Regions from separate parts of the Homo sapiens genome. Here region 1 is linked to region 2. Evidence: promoter capture Hi-C in human tissues and cell types (Jung and others, 2019). All regions are on one chromosome and are shown on one strand. The core of a region is centred on a gene start or on the middle of the fragment in contact, and the rest is flanking DNA. Distances in the headings are between cores, read along the strand shown.

Region 1 (6,389 bases), core at 3,108-5,607, 1.5 Mb after region 2:
CCTCTCTCTACCAAAAATACAAAAATTAGCTGGGCATAGTCATGCATGTGGTCCCAGCTACTTGGGAGGCTAAGGTGGGAGGATGGCTTGAGCCTGGGAGGCAGAGGTTGCAGTAAACCGAGATCATTCAACTGCATTCTAGCCTAGGCGACAGAGCCAGACCTTGTCTCAAAAAAAAAAAAAAAAAAAAAAAAGGAATTCTGTGTGTGCTTCAAATTTTCCTCATTGTACAGAACCTCCTTATGGTCATCACTCCTGAAATGGAAATCTGTACAGATGCCTTATTCAAATATCTCTCATTATGTAGAAACTTCATGTGGTTTTTCTGGCATATGGAAATCCCACATGGGTGCCTCTACACGGAATGGCCACAAAGGTGGTCTGATCTGGTTGCTGGCTAGGGCCATAGGGTGGTCACAGAGCCTCTGAACCCCCTCTCCTTGCCCCTGCAGATTCGTGCAGAGGACCGCTTCCTGCGCACAGAGCAGGGCTTGTTGCTCCGTGCACTGCAGCTCAGCGATCGTGGCCTCTACTCCTGCACAGCCACTGAGAACAACTTTAAGCACGTCGTCACACGAGTGCAGCTGCATGTACTGGGCCGGGACGCCGTCCATGCTGCCCTCTTCCCACCACTGTCCATGAGCGCCCCGCCACCCCCAGGCGCAGGCCCCCCAACGCCTCCTTACCAGGAGTTAGCCCAGCTGCTGGCCCAGCCAGAAGTGGGCCTCATCCACCAGTACTGCCAGGGTTACTGGCGCCATGTGCCCCCCAGCCCCAGGGAGGCTCCAGGGGCACCCCGGTCTCCTGAGCCCCAGGACCAGAAAAAGCCCCGGAACCGCCGGCACCACCCTCCGGACACATGAGGCCAGCTGCCTGTGCCTGCCATGGGCCAGCCTAGCCCTTGTCCCTTTTAATATAAAAGATATATATATATATATATATATATAAAATATCTATATTCTATACACACCCTGCCCCTGCAAAGACAGTATTTATTGGTGGGTTGAATATAGCCTGCCTCAGTGGCAGCATCCTCCAAAACTTAGACCCATGCTGGTCAGAGACGGCAGAAAACAGAGCCTGCCTAACCAGGCCCAGCCAGTTGGTGGGGCCAGGCCAGGACCACACAGTCCCCAGACTCAGCTGGAAGTCTACCTGCTGGACAGCCTCCGCCAAGATCTACAGGACAAAGGGAGGGAGCAAGCCCTACTCGGATGGGGCACGGACTGTCCACCTTTTCTGATGTGTGTTGTCAGCCTGTGCTGTGGCATAGACATGGATGCGAGGACCACTTTGGAGACTGGGGTGGCCTCAAGAGCACACAGAGAAGGGAAGAAGGGGCCATCACAGGATGCCAGCCCCTGCCTGGGTTGGGGGCACTCAGCCACGACCAGCCCCTTCCTGGGTATTTATTCTCTATTTATTGGGGATAGGAGAAGAGGCATCCTGCCTGGGTGGGACAGCCTCTTCAGCCCCTTCTCCCCTCCCCGCCTGGCCAGGGCAGGGCCACCCCACTCTACCTCCTTAGCTTTCCCTGTGCCACTTTGACTCAGAGGCTGGGAGCATAGCAGAGGGGCCAGGCCCAGGCAGAGCTGACGGGAGGCCCCAGCTCTGAGGGGAGGGGGTCCGTGGTAGAGGCCTGGGGCCGGTAGAGGCTCCCCAGGGCTCCCTTATGTCCACCACTTCAGGGGATGGGTGTGGATGTAATTAGCTCTGGGGGGCAGTTGGGTAGATGGGTGGGGGCTCCTGGTGGCCTTCTGCTGCCCAGGCCACAGCCGCCTTTGGGTTCCATCTTGCTAATAAACACTGGCTCTGGGACTAGACTTTGGCTTCTCTCCTTGGTCAGGGGATTTAGAGCCACACGTGGTGGGCCTGGGGAGCCAGGTGGGGGGCTGGGAAGGGAGTAGATTGGCTCCATTTAAAGAAACCCAACATGTAGAAACCACATTTAGTTTGACAAACCTGGGCTGCTGCACCACCCCAAACACTTGGGTAGTGCGAAGGGCTGTAGAGACCCCTCAGGGCCCACTCACTCCTCAGGGTCAGGGAGGGTGGGTGGAGCCTGAAGGCTGAAAGTGGCAGAAATGCAACGGCCTCACTCCTGGACAGATCCCCATCATCCAACAGGGTGGGTGTAGAAGCTGCCAGCCTGTGGTAGGAGCCAGCATTCACTTCCCACGCATACTATTTAGAGACAGCCGTTAGTGCTCAGTGTCTGGTGCCCCGGCACCCCCTTGTGGTCTCTTGAGTCTGTGGCAGAGTTGAGTGCTGAAAGGCAGCCAGGTTCCAGGGAAGAGTCCAGCCAGGAGGCTCAGGGTGCCTGGAGGAGCCTTTGAGAGCCCAAGATTTGGGTTTTCCTATGGAAGTTGAGGGTGGGAAGTCTCTAGAACCTGGGAGCTCAACCTGAACAATTTCTGCCCGGCAGTGAGCCCTGCACCTGAACAGAGCACCAGACCCCCTAAGCTGAGGCAGGCAGGCCCTGGAGATAATCTTAGGCAGGCCTCAGAGCACCCACAGCAGACAGAGCAGGAGCAGGATAGGTGAGCCCCATTCCTCCATACCCCAGGGAACACTACACCTGCTCTGGGATGCAATTTCTCCACCTGGCAACAGGCCTGCAAAACATTCTCTGGAAGAGCCTGGCCACTTCTGCAGATTAGAGACTTTGTTGCACCCAAATTCAAGTGTACATATAGGCACAGGCGCCTGCAAGCATGCATGCACACACACAGTCATACACAGGCAGAGATGGACATGCACAGGCACACATATGCTCAGGTACAAACAGGCATGTTTACACCCCTGCGTATAAGCAAGTGCACACATGCAAACCTACACAAACTGCAAAACACACAAGCCTATGTGTGCATGAAGAGAATACACAAAGCATATTCACACATGCATACACATGTGTATACATGTGCACACATACATAAGCATGCGCACAGGCACGTGATTCCTATAAGAGCACATGCACTCACAAAGGCATAAACATGCAGGCACACATGTACACACAGGTATTCATGCACAAATGTGTCAAGTTATTGCTCGCTTGGTGCCAGCAAAAGACACACCCATGGCCGGGCGAGGTGGCTCACACCTGAATCCCAGCACTTTGGGAGGCCGAGGTGGGTGGATCACAAGGTCAGGAGATCGAGACCATCCTGACCAACATGGTGAAACCCCGTCTCTACTAAAAATACACAAAAAATTAGCTGGGTATGGTGGCACATGCCCGTAATCCCAGCTACTTGGGAGGCTGAGGTGGGAGAAGCTTAAACCAGGGAGTTGAAGGTTGCAGTGAGCCAAGATCGTGTCACAGCACTCAAGCCTGGCAACAGAGTGAAACTCTGTCTCAAAAAAAAAAAAAAAAAAAAAAAAAAAAGGCCAGGCACGGTGGCTCATGCCTGTAATCCCAGCACTTTGGGAGGCCGAGGCGGGCAGATCACGAGGTCAGGAGACTGAGACCATCCTGGCTAACACGGTGAAACCCTGTCTTTACTAAAATACAAAAAAAGTAGCCCGACGTAGTGGCGGGCACCTGTTGTCCCAGCTACTCAGGAGGCTGAGGCAGGAGAATGGCGTGAACCTGGGAGGTGGAGCTTGCAGTGAGCTGAGATTGCGCCACTGCACTCCAGCCTGAGCAACAGAGCGAGACTCCATCTCAGAAAAAAAAAAAAAAAAGACACATACACCGAGGCACACAGAGCAGATATGCATGCCCACCACAGTCCGCTGGAAGCAGAGGACCTCCTTGGGGCAGCTCCAGCCTGTGATATGGGATGAATGCAATGCCCACTGTTTCCCTCTCTCTGGATTCCCTGCAGGTCATAAAATCCCAGTCCAGAGTCACCAGCCCTTCTTAACCACTTCCTACTGTGTGACCCTTTCAGCCTTTACTTCCTCATCAGTAAAATGAGGCTGATGATATGGGCATCCATACTCCAGGGCCAGTGTGAGCTTACAACAAGATAAGGAGTGGTGCTGAGCCTGGTGCCGGGCAGGCAGCAGGCATGTTTCTCCCAATTATGCCCTCTCACTGCCAGCCCCACCTCCATTGTCCTCACCCCCAGGGCTCAAGGTTCTGCCTTCCCCTTTCTCAGCCCTGACCCTACTGAACATGTCTCCCCACTCCCAGGCAGTGCCAGGGCCTCTCCTGGAGGGTTGCGGGGACAGAAGGACAGCCGGAGTGCAGAGTCAGCGGTTGAGGGATTGGGGCTATGCCAGCCCGATTAGAAGGGTTGGGGGGGCTGAGCTGGATTCACCTGTCCTTGTCTCTGATTGGCTCTTGGACACCCCTAGCCCCCAAATCCCACTAAGCAGCCCCACCAGGGATTGCACAGGTCCGTAGAGAGCCAGTTGATTGCAGGTCCTCCTGGGGCCAGAAGGGTGCCTGGGAGGCCAGGTTCTGGGGATCCCCTCCATCCAGAAGAACCACCTGCTCACTCTGTCCCTTCGCCTGCTGCTGGGACCATGGGGGCTGGGGCCAGTGCTGAGGAGAAGCACTCCAGGGAGCTGGAAAAGAAGCTGAAAGAGGACGCTGAGAAGGATGCTCGAACCGTGAAGCTGCTGCTTCTGGGTAGGGGTGTGGGCCCAGGTGGGGCCACTGCCACCAGGTCATTGGTCTGGAGGCAGGCAGGCAGCCCTTCTGTGAAGCAAGGATTCCCTGGGAAGCAGTATGAGCCTGTGACAGAGTAGGGCACAGGGTGGGAGCCCTGGCCAAGCAAGGCCAGGCCTGACAGGTGGTGTCCTAGTCCCCCAGGGCTGGACATCCCACAAAGCCCCTCTCCAGACGGCTCTGCCTCAGGTGACCCACCCTCCCCAGAAGTGCGTGCCAACCACACTCTTGCACGGGTGTGTGATGCCGACTTTTCCGTGGCTGGGTTCCCGCAAGCTTCATGCAGCCTTTGGTTTGATACGCCTGCTAGGCAATGCTCAGAAGCCAGGAGCCTCACTGGGAGCCCGTTATTGGGCTGCTACTTTGGGAAGGGGATGGCCATAGTCCTCCTGGGAGTGGGGAGCCTCTAGGACCACCCAGATCCACAACGAATGGCCCTCAGGTGCCAGAGGGCTGTGGCTGATAGACCTACAAAGCAGCCAGAGGGGCTGGCGGGTACTGAGGCCCAGTGGGAGTAGATAAAGCCGCGTCCACTGGACCATGGGCACTGAGGAGAGATGGGGCTGATCCAGGCCTGCCTCAAGGTCACTGCCTGACCTCTCAAGGGGAAAAAGCAGCTTCAAGAGGGGCTCCACCCAAGCTCCCCAGGGTCTGGTCAACCAGCTGGAGGTGGGTGAGGGACCAAGCCAGTCCCACTTTCCCCCAAGGCAGAGAGGCTAAGCCGGAAATCTCATTAACTGTGCCCAACGCCCTCGCAGGGGCAAGCTCAGAAAGGATGTCAACTCTGCCCTCCCTCCTACCCAAAAGAGCTAATTCCCTCTGAGCCTCCTGGAGACACCTGCACCCCTTCAGGTGAAATGCAAGGGGTTTACCCGCCTCAAATAACCCAGTGCTTGCGGTACCAGAGGCTCCCACGAGGTGGCGATGACGCTCCGGGATTTCTTCATTGCAGTCTCACAGCATAATAAAGGCTGCCTGTGCCGGGGTCTTGGGGACTCCCCTGTCCCAGAACAGTTGAGGTCGTTGAGTCCCCTCGTTGGCTTCCTTTCTTCACTTTCCTGGCATTTGCAAACCTTGTGACTTCAGGATGTCAGGACTTAATTTGGATGGGGGGGTAGGTGTGGCTACGGGGTCGGGGCTGGCGCTCAGGCCTCTTCGCTGCGGGTCCACCCTGCCAACTCGGGAGGTCCCCGTCCTCCTGGCCTCCTTGCTGGAGGGGGCAGGCTGGTCAGCGCAGCTCTGAGGCGCCGCGTCTCTTTCAGGTGCCGGTGAGTCCGGGAAGAGCACCATCGTCAAGCAGATGAAGTGAGTGCCCCTGCCTGTCCCGAGGCCCCTGGGTCTGGGTCCTTCCCCACTTCCCCACGAGGCGCTGATTCTGCTCTCCTCGGCCTCAGGATTATCCACCAGGACGGGTACTCGCTGGAAGAGTGCCTCGAGTTTATCGCCATCATCTACGGCAACACGTTGCAGTCCATCCTGGCCATCGTACGCGCCATGACCACACTCAACATCCAGTACGGAGACTCTGCACGCCAGGTGTGCCAGGAGGCGGGCTGAGCGGGCCTCTGGGGACTCGAGGCTCGCGGCTGGGCCCGAGTCCCTGGCCGCCACCAGCCACTCTCACCCTGCCCCCAGGACGACGCCCGGAAGCTGATGCACATGGCAGACACTATCGAGGAGGGCACGATGCCCAAGGAGATGTCGGACATCATCCAGCGGCTGTGGAAGGACTCCGGTATCCAGGCCTGTTTTGAGCGCGCCTCGGAGTACC
Region 2 (6,138 bases), core at 3,182-5,681:
TCAAGTATTGGTCATTTCCTGCACAGATAGGGTAAGCGTCAGACTGGACCCAAAGTAACCCTTCGTCTGAACATGGGCATAGTGTGGACTGACTGGCCCATACTGGCTTTGCCTAGGACCTCCAGAGGATTACCCCAGGACCTCTGACCTTTTATCAGGAGGGGAGATATCCCTAGGTAGCAGACAGTTCTTTACAGGCTTTATGGGGTCTGCTAGATGCCTTGGAATCACTGGGATTCTGTGGAGATTATCCAGGAACCTAAGCAGAGTCCTTGTGAGGTCTGTGGCAGATCTTGTAGGGTGCAGGAACCCTACCCTTAAGGGGTTCTTGGAAGGCTTAGAAATCCCTCTTTGGTTTGAGGTGCCCTGTGGAGTCCCTGAGGCCCAACAGGTTGGTGTCACTGGGTCACTTGCCTGCCCCCTGCCCCTCACCTGTGACAGTCACCAACATGGAGGCCACCAGTGGGCGGTTATTGTCTAGCTTTCGGCTGAGTCGCAGCTCCCCACTGGTCTGGTTGACTACCAGCAGCTGCAGCTCATTGCCACGCTCAAAGGAGTAGAAGAGGTGGTCGGAGACATCGGGGTCATAAGCTGGGATGCGCCCAATAATGCCCGACGGGAAGGTGTCTGAACGGTTGGATACATAGTTGTTGAAGAGGATCTGGAAGTTGTTGAGCACAGGGCTGTTGTCATTCTGGTCAACCAGGCGGACGTGCACAGTGGCCCGGCTGACCAAAGGAGCAGATGTGGCCTGCACCACAATCACATATTCTTGGCGAGCCTCATAGTCTAGGTCAATGAGTGCCGTCAGTTCTCCAGAGAAGATGTCCATTTGGAACAGCTCAGGGATGTTCCCCTCCACGATCTGGTACATTATATGGGCATTGGGGCCTTCGTCAGGGTCCACTGCAGTGATCTGGGCCACCACTGAGCCCACAATGCTATTCTCTTTCACCCGCACCTCAAACTCCTCAGCTGGGAAGACAGGTGCATTGTCGTTCACATCCTGCACCATCACCTGGATACTGACTGGAGTCCGGAGTGGGGGCACACCTCTGTCCACTGCGTAGGCAGTCAACTCATACACTGATACTGCCTCCCGGTCTAGCCGCCTTACTGTACGGACAATTCCAGAGGTGGGCTCAATGGTAAAATCTCCATCCCCATCTTCACCATTCTGGAAAGTGTACTGGACCCGGCCATTGGCATGAGCATCCCGGTCAGTGGCTGAGATCTGCAGGACACTGGTGAAAGGTGGGGCATCCTCAGAGACCAGCCCTGTATAGTGGGAGGCCACAAATTGTGGAGCATTGTCATTCACGTCATTGACCATCACCTCCACATAAGTAGTGTCTGCCTTCTGTGGGATGCCATTGTCCCGAGCTGTGATAGCCAGGGTGTAGGTCACCTGGTCCTCATAGTCTAATGGGGCCTGTAATGTAATGGCTCCTGAGTCTGCATCAATGCGGAACTGGGGCAGGTTGTCCTCCAGGAGATAGGTGATACGAGCATTCTCACCCACGTCATCATCAGAGGCACTGATGACCACTATGGTGCTACCCATTGGCCGATCTTCATTCACACTCACTGAGTAGTGGGCACTTTGAAAGACCGGCCGATGAGTGTTGGCATCTGTGATGTTGATGTGCACATAGCAGTGATCATGAAGGGCACGGTCAGATGCAGTTAGTACCAGCTTGAAGTAGCGTTCCTGCTTGTAGTCCAGTGGCAGAGCCAGAGTCACCAGACCCACACCCCCCTGGGTGCTGATGGCAAAGCGATTCCGGGTGTTGCCGCCTGTGATCTGGTAGCTGATGGCACTGTTGGCATCACGGTCTACTGCGGTCACGCTGACCACACTGGTGCCCACAGCTGCATCCTCATTCAGTCGTAGGTGGTACTCCTTCATTGTGAACTCAGGCCGATTGTCATTAACGTCCAGCACAGTCACGGTGACACTGGCTGAGGCAGAGAGTGGGGGTGAGCCATGGTCTCGAGCCTCCACACCAAAGAAGTAATGCTCCACAGACTCACGGTCCAGGGGACCACTCACAGAGACCCAGCCAGTGGCGCTGTTTATCACAAAAGGAGTATCAGGTGCCACACCAGTTAGGGAGTACTCCAATCTGGCATTCTCCCCATGGTCTGCATCGACTGCCTGAATGTGGATGACTGAGTGACCCAAGGGAGCATTTTCCAAGACAGAAACTTGGAAGGGCGTGCTGACAAAAATAGGAATGTGGTCATTGATGTCCACCACCTGGATGCTGGCCAGGCCCGTGTTGTTGGACAGCGGTGGCCGGCCAGCATCCTGCGCCCTGATGCGCAAGGCATACTCTCTCTCTGCCTCGAAGTCCAGAGGTGCCACCACCTGGATCTCGCCAGTGAGGCTGTCGATGGCAAAGTGTCCACGGCTATTGCCACTGATGATGTTGTAGTGCACCAATCCGTTGGCGTCCTTGTCCCGGTCAGTGGCCGTGACGCGCAGCACGACTGTGTGGGGGCGCACATCCTCGCGCACCTGCGCCACGTAGCGCTTCTCGCTGAACTGAGGAGCATTGTCGTTCTCGTCTAGCACAGTTATGTGTACGCGCACAGTGGCCGAGCGCGGCCCGGGTTCCTGGCCCTGGTCGCTGGCTTCCACCACCAGCTCATAGCTTTCCATGTGCTCGCGGTCCACTCGGCCGCTGGTGCTGATGAGGCCGGAGCGTGGATCAATCTCGAAGGCGGCGGCAGCTGCAGCGCGCGCAGCTGGCGGCCCCACGAAGCGGTAGCGCAGGTTGGCGTTGGGGGGCGCGTCGCCGTCAGTGGCACGCAGCTGCAGGATAGGGTAGCCCTCCTCCACATTCTCGCGAAGGGTCTCCCGGTACTGCGCTTGCTCAAAAACCGGCGAGTGGTCGTTGCGGTCGGCTACTGTCACGGCCACCATCGTGGTGGCCGAGAGGCGCGGCGACCCGTGGTCCTGCGCGGTCACACGCAGGTAGTGACGCTCCATGCTCTCGCGGTCCAGAGCTGCCGCCGTACGGATAAGGCCGCTCTGCGGGTCGATGCTGAACAGCTCCAGCGAGCGGCTGTTCATGAGTGCCGCCAGCGAGTAGACTAGGCGCCCGGCCTCGCCGGCGTCCGGGTCCTGAGCAACCACGCGTAGCACCGCGGTGCCTGCTGCCTCATTCTCCGGCACCAGCGTCTGGTAGTTGTACTGCGGAAACTGCGGGTGGCGGTTTGCGGCGCGACGAAAGCGTGCCCGGTTCGCCGAGGTTACTTTCCTGGCTTCAGGACGGGCCGGGAGTCCCGGGGGACGCGGCCCGGGGCGCTGCGGGAGGAAGCGGCAGCGGAAGAGACCCCGGGAGCGCATGCGCTTGGGCGCCGGCTCGGGAGCTGTCCGAGACTCGCGGGGTGCTGAACCTGATGCAGGAGCTGTCCTCGCCGTGCGTGGTGCTGAATCCAGCTCGGGGCCAGATCCCGAGGCCCCTGGAAGACAGTTCCGCCGGGGGGCTGTCCTTTCTGCTCCGGATGTCGTGGCTCTCTCGCCCTGACCCTTGCTCCCTGTTGCCCATAATTCCCCACAGCAGCGCGCGGTGCCCACTCTTTTGCGGGAGCCTGTCCCAGCGTTCCGCTGGGAGGACACCGGCTTGGGACCGTGGTGCCGAATCAAAAAGTCTGAAGGGAGGGGCGAGCTGTTCCCCGAGCCCGGGACCCCTGAGGACAGAGCCCCTGGTGACAGACTACCTCTTTGCAAAGGTCCTGTCCGCCCGCAAGAGGAGACCTCTGGGCGCCAGTATAACACAGACCCTGGTCCCTGTCCTGTCTCTCGTTCGCGGCTGCCCAATGGCTGGACGCCGTGTTCAATCCCCAGCTCCTCATTCGGCTGCTCAGGGGGCCCTCGACTATTCCGGGCGCTTTGCCTTCTCCCTCGGAGCCCCACGAAGATAGGCTCCCTGACCCCCAGGCCAGGCCCCCCATCCTCCCGGACCCCGGAAGACTCCGGACAAAGAGCTAAGGCTCCGCCACCGATATGCGCCCTTGGCCCCGTAGTGGCAGCTAAGCCTGGGTCCCAGCCCTGGTGCCCACCGCCCCCCAGCTCCTCCTGGCTGAGGGGGAACAAAGAGAGGAGAAGGAGCAGGAGTATGGGGGTCGACCGTCCCCCGAGGCCCCGCCACGGCGGCCGCCTCGCCATCATCCCCCGCCTCCCTGCACGGCCTCCACCGCCCCCCGCCCCGGTCCGGGCCTTGGGCTGGCCCCGCCGCTCGGGCCCCCTCCCGGGCCCCTGCCGCCGCCCCGGGCCCCCGCCCCTCCGCCTGTCTCTCCGCACCCCCGCCGCCCTCTGGGCACCATCTACTCCGCGGCCGGAGCCCCTCCGGCGTGCGGCCCTGGCTTTTTCCGCCCCCACCACAGCATCCCCGACGCTGCTGCCGCCTCCCGCCGCTCCAACATGGCTCCCGGCCGCCCCGATGGTTCGCTCCACCTCTGCCCCGGCGCCCGAAACACGGTGGTACAACCCATCGCGCATGGCAGCTCTGAGGACCGAAGATGTTGCCGCCATCTTTATTGAGGACGTGAGCGTTGCTCCTGGTGCTGAACAGAGCGCGAAGGTTCGCCGTCGTTGGGTCCGCCCTCCCCACTTTCGGTCGCCGCCTTCACCCACCTCCCTCCTTCTAGGGCGCTGTCCCAGCTCCGTCTCCCAGCCTTTTTCTGTCCTTCCAGATCTCTTGTTCCCCCTTCCTGACCACTAGTTCTGAACCGTGTCCCGGATTTTGGTCTGAAATTTTGGTGCCCATGAGCGTTCTCATAGCTCTGGGAGGGGGTACTGTGTGAAATCCTGGGGTAGAGGGGACGATGGCTGGAGAGGGGTCTGGGGTGCCAGCACCCCGAACAATAGCTTTAACTATCCCATCAGCTAGTTTTATGAAACATGTCGCGACCACCTGCTTGTTTGGATCGCCCCTGCGGAGCAGGGACCAGAGATGACCCTCCCGAGGCGGGAGCAGAGGCCAAATTCTTCCCTGCCTTGCTGGTCCCCAGCAGTCTCCCGGGCTCGGGGCCCCTTCACTGGAGGCTGCACCCCCTCCCAGGCTGCGAGTCCCGAGTGCTCTGGGATGCCACGTGGAGCCCGGCGTTGCCCCATGGCTGCGGGCCCCGCTTCTTCGGGTCCCCGCCCCTCGTCCGTCACGACCGCATGCCTTAACCCCTTGAAGGGACTGACACAGAAACTCAGTCCTCCCCCCACCCTCGGTGCATTCCAGCTCTCCCTGCGTAACTCCTGGCACGCGCCGGTCTCGCCAGGCCAATGGGTGGACCTGGCGCAACAGACGTCACGAGAGGAGCGGAGGCGAGGGGTGAACGCGGAGCACTCCAATCGGTCAGTCATTGTTTCTATTGGCACAATGGGAGGCCCCGCCCCTCACGGCGGACTCATCGCATGGGGGAGGGGGCTCCGCGGGTTGCCGGCTAACCGTGAGAGAGTCCGGGAGGTACACTATACGGACCGGCCTCCAAAGGCGGAATCGATAACGAGCTGCAGCGCCGGGTGCAGAGGACGCGGGCATCCCGAAGCCCAGGAAGAGGTCAGGGCCGGGACCCCAGAACGCTCCACAGGGTGCGGCTCCCGCGATGGGGTGGATCCTGGTTCTAACAGGCGAGGAACTCCTGGCCAAGGCCTCTGGCCCGCCCCGAACGGTCCCTATGACATCACCATCAACCAATCAGTCGGCGCATCCTTTCGCCCCTTGACTGCTCCGCTTCCGGGAGGCGGGGCTTCTGCGGGTTCCACCTCCCGAGCGCCCCTTGTGGCTACCAAGGTCAGGCAACAGGTGTCCAGTTGTTCCCTCTCCTGTCTACGAATCTGAGGACCTCCCCAGGATCAGAGCTCTGGGCCTGATACACGGCCGGGGTTCCTACGGGTTTGTGAGTGGGGGTGGAAGATCTGCAGAGGCACTTAGGGCTGAACTCCTTTGAATGGGAGCCAATCGGTGCAGGGGCTGGAGGAGCGAGTCCCCCAAAGTAGTTTTATTTATCTATTTAGAGACAAGGTCTCACTCTTTCGGAGTGCAGTGGTGATCACAGCTCACCGTAGCCTCGAACTCCCCAGGCGATTCTCTCACCTCAGCCTCCCGAGTAGCTGGGACTACGGGTACATGT

The links. The method cuts DNA at HindIII sites, captures the fragments that hold promoters and counts their contacts. A contact is called where the count stands out against the background at its distance.
Region 1: the fragment with the promoter of GNAT1 here is called in contact with the fragment with the promoter of CELSR3 in region 2 in 1 of the 25 tissues and cell types used here (aorta).

The regions. Positions count from the first base shown.
Region 1 is chr3:50,187,253-50,193,641 of GRCh38, forward strand. It overlaps GNAT1 (G protein subunit alpha transducin 1), which reads left to right and starts at 4,358. Exons shown (of 9, transcript NM_144499.3): 1 at 4,358-4,579; 2 at 5,881-5,923; 3 at 6,013-6,154; 4 at 6,254-6,389. The coding sequence starts at 4,474. It overlaps SEMA3F (semaphorin 3F), which reads left to right. Exons shown (of 19, transcript NM_004186.5): 19 at 453-1,823. The coding sequence ends at 863. RefSeq lists an enhancer at 6,114-6,389. The HindIII fragment of the contact is 7,512 bases long and covers 1,132-6,389 here.
Region 2 is chr3:48,658,455-48,664,592 of GRCh38, forward strand. It overlaps CELSR3 (cadherin EGF LAG seven-pass G-type receptor 3), which reads right to left and starts at 4,432. Exons shown (of 35, transcript NM_001407.3): 1 at 433-4,432. The coding sequence starts at 4,180. It overlaps LINC02585 (long intergenic non-protein coding RNA 2585), which reads left to right and starts at 5,314. Exons shown (of 3, transcript NR_111921.1): 1 at 5,314-5,359. RefSeq lists enhancers at 2,155-2,741, 2,742-3,326, 4,438-4,627, 4,498-5,083, 5,398-5,757 and 1 more. The HindIII fragment of the contact is 20,539 bases long and covers 1-6,138 here.